3 separate regions of the Homo sapiens genome follow, and regions 2 and 3 are each linked to region 1. The links are contacts of gene promoters, found by promoter capture Hi-C in human tissues and cell types (Jung and others, 2019). All regions are on one chromosome and are shown on one strand. The core of a region is centred on a gene start or on the middle of the fragment in contact, and the rest is flanking DNA. Distances in the headings are between cores, read along the strand shown.

What was found. The method cuts DNA at HindIII sites, captures the fragments that hold promoters and counts their contacts. A contact is called where the count stands out against the background at its distance.
Region 2: a fragment that was not itself captured here is called in contact with the fragment with the promoter of ARL15 in region 1 in 1 of the 25 tissues and cell types used here (IMR-90 fibroblasts).
Region 3: a fragment that was not itself captured here is called in contact with the fragment with the promoter of ARL15 in region 1 in 1 of the 25 tissues and cell types used here (hippocampus).

What each region holds. Positions count from the first base shown.
Region 1 is chr5:54,308,736-54,311,896 of GRCh38, reverse strand. ARL15 (ARF like GTPase 15) reads left to right here and starts at 1,324. Exons shown (of 5, transcript NM_019087.3): 1 at 1,324-1,465. The coding sequence starts at 1,418. The HindIII fragment of the contact is 9,246 bases long and covers 1-3,161 here.
Region 2 is chr5:53,128,806-53,132,095 of GRCh38, reverse strand. No RefSeq gene overlaps it. Among named protein-coding and RNA genes, the nearest start is that of MOCS2-DT, 21 kb to the right of the region's middle. The HindIII fragment of the contact is 3,023 bases long and covers 142-3,164 here.
Region 3 is chr5:52,951,420-52,954,782 of GRCh38, reverse strand. ITGA1 (integrin subunit alpha 1) reads right to left here. Exons shown (of 29, transcript NM_181501.2): 29 at 1-2,376. The coding sequence ends at 2,332. All of the region lies in intron 2 of ITGA2-AS1 (ITGA2 antisense RNA 1), which reads left to right. Among named protein-coding and RNA genes, the nearest start is that of ITGA2, 36 kb to the left of the region's middle. The HindIII fragment of the contact is 5,123 bases long and covers 1-3,363 here.

The sequences.
Region 1 (3,161 bases), core at 75-2,574:
ACGGAAATTTGTTTCTTGAGGATACAAAAAAGAAAGGTGTCAGGGGGAAAGTAAAAATTCAACTCCTAAAACATCGCGTGTAGAGTCAGGCAGTCACTTCATAAAGAGTTCAGTCGATGAAGTTTCACTCTTGAAACTTTACTGTATGTATGCAAGCCCTAACTATTAATACAGGTGACAGCATCCACCTTATCTTCCATTCTCCCTAAGCCCTGAGGGTGGGGATGGGGGGGGGGGCACTCCAATCACCTGAGCCTAAGAACATAGCCTAAGAACATGTGTCTGGCATGGTCTGGTTATTTATAGCCTAAAAAAAAAAAAAGCCAGCTTCTTGTCCGATTCAGGCTTTCCCTGCCCAAACCCACTAGCTTAATGCGATATTGACATTACCAGGAAATGCATACGTCCCAAATGCATCTGCTTATAGATGTTTTTACCTCCTGAAATAATACCGGGTCACAAATACTGTTGTGTTTTTTGCAGAGAGCTTCTACTGCTCATTTAATTCAGGGGCGTTGGATTTGTGCTGAGCGTAATTTGACTCCAAGCATGCAAACTGATCAACTTCTTCCCGTGTGTTTGGGGAGTACAAGTGACTACTGCGACTCCTCAAATGTTTTTCTTTTCCTTTTCACGTGGAGGAAAGCGAATTCTCCGAAGACTGTTCGGCGTTCTACGCAGGGGTTGGAAGGGGGGTTCCTGAGTCACCTCTGGCTGCGCGGGGGGCCTGTGTGTACCCTCAGGGACACCAGGCTGGAATCGTCCACCTTACTTTCAAATGATAAAAGTGCGGAGGGTCTTTCTGCCCCTAAGTCGCGTACAGGATTGCCTGTTTACGGAGTACACTTTCACACACTTCTTTCCCGGTGGTGCAGTCTCGTGGCGGCAGAGCCTTTAGGAAGGCTCTGGGGGGAGACAAGATCAGTGGCGACCACGCCTCCCATGTTACAGCGCTCGCTTCCTACTGGGGGTTGGCGGGGACACCAAGGCTCTCCAGCCCGGGAACACGGAGTTCGGCTCCGTTGTACCCAACTGGAAAGCTGTGGAAACACAAAACTCGGGCGGCGACAGCACCAGCCGATTTTCCGCTCTCTTGGCTCTTTCTTCCGCTTGCACCGCCCCCACCCCGGCTCCTCCGCTCAGCACACAGGAACCCACATCCCCCACCACTCCCGCGTTTCTCTCCTGCCACCAGCTGGGGCCTGCCTTTTATAGGCGCCGCAGCCAATGAGCACGCTTCTTTCCTTCTGCCCGCCCGCCTGGCCAATCGCCGCGCCCCTTGTGTAATCTCCGGCTAGTCGGCTGCTTTCGGCTATTTTCGCTGTTGCTGGCTTTTTCAGGAGCTGCTCGCTCGCAGCCAGAGACGCTGCTTTTTTTTTCCGGGTTCGGAGCCGTTCCGGATGCTTTAGGCTGCCGGATGTCTGATCTCCGAATAACTGAGGCGTTTCTGTACATGGATTATCTGGTAGGTGCAGGGCAGGGGTGGCATGTCGCCTCTCGGATCTCGGCGTGCCCGATGGCCCCCTGCCTTGAGGAGCAGCCTTTTTGCTTTCTTTCTTTGGGATAGGATGCCTCTGGGGTTCTTTCTCCCGCAGCCGGCTGGTAAGCCTTTCCCTGGACTCGGAGGGGCAGCCTCCAGGGCGGGTGGGTGGTGGAGCTGACAGGTAAAGGTGCGGCCTGGGCCAGCACGGCTGCAGGGCGAGGGTCGCGCTGGGGCTGCTTGAGAGATGGGGCGGCCGCGGCGGCGCGTCCCCTGCCCGCGATCGGCTTCCTGGCTTCCCTCTGCGCTCTCCGCAGAGGACTTTCTTTCCGGGGGAGCAGGAGTTTTCCTCTCTCCCTGGAGCAGAACTCCAGGTGCTATTAAAGAGCCATAACCAGAATGGCTCACTAAGTGCCCAGCAGCCCTGGTCATTTGATTGTTATTAAATCTCTAAAGCTATGACCTCGGTCGTGGCGGGGTTTTAAAAGCACATTACCATAAAGCAGACGGGTCTAAACTACCTCGCAGGCTGGCACGAACAGGACTGAGTAGGGACAGGTATAGCCCCACCATTCCGGTCTTGGGTGCGTGCCGCGGTTCCACTGTGCACGGATTGGAACCCGGCTGTTTAGGCCAGGCTTGTGCTGAGAAGTTTAGGTGGGAAAAGTGTCAGCACAGTGCTGGGACCGAACATCATTTTAAAAATGGACTTCTATGTGTCTTTGTGGAATTATGCGAGCACCATGTTTTGTTCCAGAAATTATATTTCCCCAGAGTTGCTTGTTTGCGTTTAAGGGGATCCTCATTTACAGAGACTTGTGTTCGATCCTATACGATTATTGTGTTTACCATGTTGGGCAGAACCGCTATTGCCATGCAGAGTTGAAGTAGACGGTTAGAAACATTGACCCTCCTGTCATCTTGTTGGACACATGCACTCGGTTTTCGACTGCAGATTGGCCTGGCAGAGATTTGCCAGTGCCTTCTAGGAATTACACTTAAGGCTGTACTGAGAAAGTCTGTGCATGCTTTGATGGCCAAGAAACGCCGGACCGGCTTTGTGCTGTTATCTGTGTATTTGGGCTTATTTTAGTGTACATAAAGAAAATGTTTCTCCTAATGCTTCAGAGCTTGATGGTCTTGTGGGAAAGGATGGTGACTGCAGTTAATGCATAGCCTTGTGAATGGAGCTGGATCTAAAATTCTGAATTCAAGTTCTGTTTTGTTGTTCATTTGTTGATGGCAGTAACTTCCTTTATCTTTGTGATAAAGGGATATTATTCACCCAGTACTGTAGCTGGTTACGGGGATTATCTGATTATGAACATTCTTCACAATACAAGGTGCCCTGTAAGTTAAGAGAGCTGCCAGAAGATTATTTTCTAAGTTAAATAACTGATTTAATTTGTAATTTATCTTATAAAATACAATACATGGTTTTTGTCTTGCAGTCTGCCTAAATTAAAGCGAAAGTTTGTTGGGATAATTACCAAGTAGGAAAGGGTGACATTGCCTGTACTACTAAAAGCTAATTTTGAATACTTAAATAGTTCTTAAAAAAGAAAATCAGGTGGTTCTGACATTTTATTATTTTCTTTATTTACCGGATGTGTTTTAAATTTATAAATTGCATCACAAAGCTGTCTTTGAGGTGCCAAACCTATCAAAATGCTTAGTGAAA
Region 2 (3,290 bases), core at 404-2,903, 1.2 Mb after region 1:
TTCAATCAATTTTTATTTCTTAAATGAGTGGATAAATGAACAAAGGAAACAGATAATAAGTGTCCAAAGTATAAAGTAGGTTAGGAGTACCAGAACTGAGAAGTGGGGAAATAGACAGGACTCCATAGATAGAGTCAAAGGACAGAGTATTTTATTACTGTAAAGAGGTCATGAAAAGTTTCATCTAGGTACAGAACAACAAAATGAGGTTTTGGTCAATGCAAGAAATGGAATAACTCTTTGGTCTCAAGTCACATTTTGACTGTAGTGTGTGGTGAGATTTTGTGCATTAGTTGTTTTTTTACATTTAATGGGAACTGGGCACATAATTCTATAAACCCTAAAAGGAGAACTGGGCCCATAAAATATTCTAATTAAAAACTGTATTCTTTGTGGTTTTATTCACATGTTTTCTTTGTATTATAATCTAATATGCTTGCTTAGAAAAACACATTTCATTGTTCTTGAGTCATATTCCCATCTTGAGTTTATTAAACTTGAATTAAAATAAATTACTCTAAAAACAAGGCTATATTTTCAACATTTGTACTTGAAAAACCTTTGAAACTAAATGATATGGTTTTGTGGTGTCCCCACCCAAATCTCATCTTGAATTGTAGTTCCCACAATCCCCACATGTCATGGGAGGGACTTGGTGGGAGGTAATTGAATGATGGGGTCAGTTACCCCCATGCTATTCTTGTGATAGTGAATGAGTTCTCACAAGAGCTGTTGGTTTTATAAAGGGCTTCCCCCCACCCTTCACTCTGCACTTCTCCTTGCTACTGCCATGTGAAGAAGGATGTGTTTGCTTCCCCTTCCTCCATGATTATAAGTTTTCTGAGGCCTCCCCAATGATGCAGACATGTGAGTCAATTAAACTTCTTTCCTTCATAAATTACCCAGTCTTGGGTATTTCTTCATAGCAGTGTGAGAACAAACTAATACACTAAATAAAGTTAAAATTAAAAACATTAAGCAAATCTAAGTCTTAAAAATGGTAAGGCCTCGCCCATCTCAAATATAGATATTTGTTACAGCAGCATGGTTTTCATTTTTGTCTTTTGGTCTTTTCCAGTTGGAGAGGTTTGATTAATGTTATGTTAAATGCCTAATATTATGTAATAAATTAAGTTACTCATGCTGTGCCTAGCCCCTTCGCACCTACTTCTAGCAGCAAAAGGTAGCTGAGGATAAACAACTCCATGAGGGGAAATTCACTATACATATGTTCAAACAAATATATCCATGGTATCAAAGAGGGAGAGGGGGGGAAAAAAGCTTTCAGAGAAAATATTTCAAATATTTGTCTTTCTCTTCCTATTATATTTTATACGTATGTATTACAGAAGAAAAAAACGCTCAGCAAATTAAGAAAGCCCACTAGTAATCCCTAAGGACACTGTCACTACTAGGTCTTGATGACAGGCAACATTCTGAAGAAATATATCTAAATCATGGACTTTTTTTTTTTTTAAGTTAAGAAAACCAGAAAAGTCATAGGTCCTGATTACAGATTCTGGCACAATTTCAATGACAGTTTTTAAACATAATGTCCTCTTAGTTGTAAACCCACATATGGGTCCTTTATTGGTGAAGTTCAGAGCCAATTTCTTCATGCAAGCCTGGAACCCTATCTACTCCTTTCTGATCTTTCAACAGTTTTCAAGGAGTCGGCCTTCTTTCTTTCCAGAAAGCAATCACCCATTCTTTCAACTTCATGTCACTAACATTACTCATCACAGTGGAGGAACAGACGAGGGTAATTATAATTTTTTTTAATTTTGGAAAGAGCCCAAGTACTAAATGTCTTTCAAATTTGTGTAGTTCCCTACTCTATGACTGTTAATTTTCTCGATGTCATTGAAAGTTTCCTTTGTTTGTTTATTTATTCATTCGCTCTTTCATTCAACAAGTGTTTATCAAGTACCTACTATGTGCCAGGCACTGTTTTGGACTCTGGGGACATATCAGTGGACAAAATCTTAAGAAAGTGTGCATTCTAGAGGGGAGAAATGATTATAAACAGACCAACTAAAAACAAAATCCAATCTACCAAGTAATGATAAGTGATATGAGAAAAACAAGCCGAGTTCGTGGAAAAGAGAAAGCTGGGTGGGAGGGCTGCTGCTTTGTATTGGGTGGTCAGTGAATACTGCTCTGATACTATTCATTGAGCAGGACCTGAAGGAAGTGAGGGGTGCATTATGCAGATATCTGGGAAAAGATCCATTTAGGCAGAGGAAACAGGAATTTAAAAGGTCCTGAGTGTGCTTGATGTGTTCAGGGAACGGCTGGACCACTGTGGCTGGAGCAGAATGTGCAATGTGTTCGAGGATGGAGGAAATGACATCAAATAAAACAGAGCTGGGACCAGACCTGGGCCTTGGTGTCCACTTTAAGGGCTTTGACATTTATTCCAAGTGAGATGGGAAGCTATGGAAGAACTTTTAGCAGTGAAGTGACATGATCAGATTTAAGTTTTAAAAGGATCATTTTAACTTTTACATTGAGCCACAGACTGTAGGGTTAAGTTCATAAACAGGGAGAACAGTTTTAAATCCATTGTAATAGTGCAAATGCTAGATGAGTTATTGTCTCAGAAATGTACACATTCAGGCTGGGTGCGGTGGCTCACACCTGTAATCGCAGCACTTTGGGAGGCCGAGGCAGGCAGATCACTTGAGGTCAGGGGTTCAAGACCAGCTTGGCCAACATGGTGAAACCCTGTCTCTACCAAAAATATAAAAAAATAGCCGGGTGTGGTGGCACACGCCTGTAATCCCAGCTACTCGAGAGGCTGAGGCAAGAGAATTGCTTGAACCCAGGAGGCGGAAGTTGTAGTGAGCCAAGATAGCGCCATTGCACTCTAGCCTGGGCAACGGAGTGAGACTGTCTCAAAAAGAAAAAAGAAAAGAAAAGAAAGAAATATATACATTCAGTCCAGTCTGGGTTAGATATTTAACCATGATGCTTACCTCATAGCCAGCTTTTGGGTTTAGTATTTTCTCAGAATCATTCATAACCTTCCCTGATCTCATTTCTGTACATGGACCAATCTCTTCCTAATCCAACTATACCCAAGATAGTCCCTATGAAACCATCCTAGGGGAGAAACATTCAACCTTTTGGCTCTCAAAAATTTTTCTTCTGGGCTTCAAATGTTTTTTGCAGGAAACTTGCATTTGTAACTTTTTCTTTCTTCATCCTTTTAAAAATTCTTTTGGTTTTACCTGTAGCACATTCAATCATATGTTACCAAAGTCAGTTCTGGCTTTATTTGGAACTCA
Region 3 (3,363 bases), core at 783-3,282, 1.4 Mb after region 1:
AAACTATATGAAACTATATGAAACTAGATGAATCAAACTTGTCTTGCAGATATAGCTTTTGTGTTTATTTTCTGTAAACTCTGTTTTTTGGTGTTATAGAGCTATTTTTGTATTCAATTTATATGTGTACATGTGTCTGCACATGCACACACACACACACACAAACCTCAACAAATTATAATATTAGAGAAACAGGACTTCTGGTTCATGAAATATTTTACTTAATAGCCAGGAATGACTTATGTTAAAAATTGTGCCGGGCTTATAAGTATCTCTTTGATCTGGCCAACAGCTCTTCCTCTCTTTTCTAAAAACTTCAAAATGCCCTCATTTCTATTTTTTCCCTTTCAGTTAACAATTTAGTTTAAAAGTGCACACTTATGGTTCAGTAAATGGGCTTTGTCTAGTAGTCACAGATGCTGAGTATGAATTTCAATGGATCCGTTAGCTTTACTACTAAGATCTTGCTGAGATCAGAGAAGGGCTTCTGGGCAGGCTGAGCACTGGGGGTGTGCAACATGGTAACTCTGAATAAGAGAAACCCTGAGTTTTACTGGGCAAAGAAAGAACAAGTGGTAGGTATGATTTCTGAACCTGGAAATAGCGAAAATGAAGGAAATTCCAAAAGCGCGTATTTCCAAATAATGACAGGCCAGCAAGAGGACACCAAACCTCTAGAAAGAGGTATTCTTTCTTCCAGCTACTGATGGCTTTGGCATCCCACAGGCGCATTCCTTTGGCCTTCAGGATCTTAGATGCGGATGTGGAGAGTCAAGAGGTAGGCTGACTCTGAGTCTTCAGCTAAATTCTTTGGAAATTAGTTTAAAAAAATAAATTTATAACATTTAATTTCTATGTGGATTTGCTCCTCTTTGAACAAAGCAGAGCCCAGGAGTTTCTGGATGAATACATGTTCTGGTCTTGTTACAGGTTCTGGTAAATCAGATGGAGAAATGTTGTTGCAGAAATGTCAGCAAACTTTACAGCAGTAGTTCACACATGCAGCTACTATACATTCATTCATTGCTATTTTCCTAAGAAATGGAGCAACCTAGGAGCTTATGCTACAGTAGATTCCAATGAACCATAATGACTACTTCAAGAACAAAGAAGCACATACAAAGGTGTGATATCTTCCTGTTGGTTTGAGTTTTCAAACCTGAAATTCTTTAAAATACATTTCTGGGATTTTATTTAAATATTGATGCAACACACCTAAAAAGCAGTGACTTCTTGGTAAAATGTAATACTGAAATGGAAAATTGTCTTTTCAAAAAAATAAGAAGTGTGGTTGGAAATTAAATACCTTTTAAAAAATTAAAAATAAACACACTCTCACAGCTTGGGGGTTTGAATGAACCCTGTACCAAGGAGTTGAGACAACTCTTTCTTTGGGTCACATACTGGAACCCTTAGCATTCAAAAGCTGCTCAGCAAAGATAATTTCAGCATTTCAGTGGCATCTTTCTCTGCTGTCGTATTTCATTCAGAAGCCATTTTAGCATGTCCCCCATATATGGCTTTTCATGACAAATCACTGTGATGCCACACAAAACTACTTTAAGTGTTTTTTCAGTATAAAAGAGTTTTGCATTTAGAGCTCAATATCAAAATTAAGCATGTTCTGTAAAAGCTTAATTTAACCCATTTAATATACTTGTTTTTAAACGAGTCTATCCTGATTTTCCATCCTAGATAAAATTTTAGCTCAATTGCAGTACTTTCCAATCACCTTGGGCAGGGAGGGAAAATTTTTAGGTATAGAACCCAACACAAAGATGCTAAATGTATTCTTGGTGACTTAATTTTCAATCCATATTGTATATGGATTCTACCAAGGGAAAATATTCTCATTTGAATAGGGAGAAATGATCTTTTTCAGGTAATTCTTTTCTTGGCATTTACGAGTGCTGACTGTCATGCTGAACATGGATATCCAACAGGAATCAAGGGGAAAAGCTTAATTTATATTGTTTTGAAAATAGATGTTTCTATGATCATAAAAATCTTTTTATATATTCCTTAAATATTTTGGATGGTGATTTAATACATAAACATATTTGTACAGGTTTTTTTAAAAACACTTTGTAATTTTGCTTACTCAACAAAAATGAGTAATTATGTAAAATATTTTTTGTCATTTTATAAAATATGTCTTTTTGGTATTGTTTTTGGATAATGCATGACCTGTCATTTTCCAAGTAATGAATCCCTGATGGATTACATAGTTACATGACTATGTCATGAATTATACATTTCTTGTCACATATTTGAGGCAAACCTGAGGATAGATTATTGAATAATTGTTATTATTTTCTTTCATAAAATATTTCATTTCTCCATTTTCTTTTTCAGTGGTCTTTTGAAGAATCCAATCTGTTGAGAAAACACAAAACATAACACAATTAACTATTTTAATTTAGGTAGCAAATATTAATCCTTTGGATAGAATTAAATTTAATAGTATATTGGCAATGCTGGGCACACAACTAATATAATTAAGAAATATTTTCTCATTGACCTATTAATATTCAATGTCAAAAAATGACATTTATTAAATTGCTGTTTCTTTTTTTTTCTTTTCTTTTTTTTTTTTGAGACAGTCTCACTCTGTCACCAGGCTGGAGTGCAGTGGCGTGATCTCCGCTCACTGCAACCTCCGCCACCCGGGTTCAAGTGATTCTCCTGCCTCAGCCTCCTGGGTAGCTGGGACTACAGGCATGCACCACCATGCCCAGCTAATTTTTGTATTTTCAGTAGAGACGGGGTTTCACCATGTTGGCCAGGATGGTCTCTATCTCTTGACCTCATGATCTGCCTGCCTCGGCCTCCCAAAGTGCTGGGATTACAGGCGTGAGCCATCGCGCCGGGCCGCGGTTTCATTTTTAATATTTTCATTGGTTAAATACACCATGACCCCTAGTAAAATATAGTATACACATTGAACTAATTAAAAGCTTCTGGGAAAATATTTTGGGAGACAAACTGCAATTAGCTAGCATTGTCTCTTCTTTGCCATCATCTTTTTTTTCAGGGATGTGGCAGAGAAATTTCCATCAAATGATCGATGACCATAAGTTGAGGTCATTAGAGATGGTAGGGAATCTGACAGGTATATTATGGCTAGGGCGTTAGGGAGATTTCTGAGTTGTCTGTATTAACTTTAAATGCATCAGGACGTCTGCTTATATAGATTTGATATAAAAAGCCTCTTGAAAACACACTATATCATTTGGAAATAAAAAATGAAGTTGTTGACCATAAGAAAAATTTCACATCGTGGTGGATGGTGAGCCATATTTCATTATGCTTTGCAATTTGGGGCATCATAAAAAGTTATAAGTGCTGCAATTGTTTCCCATC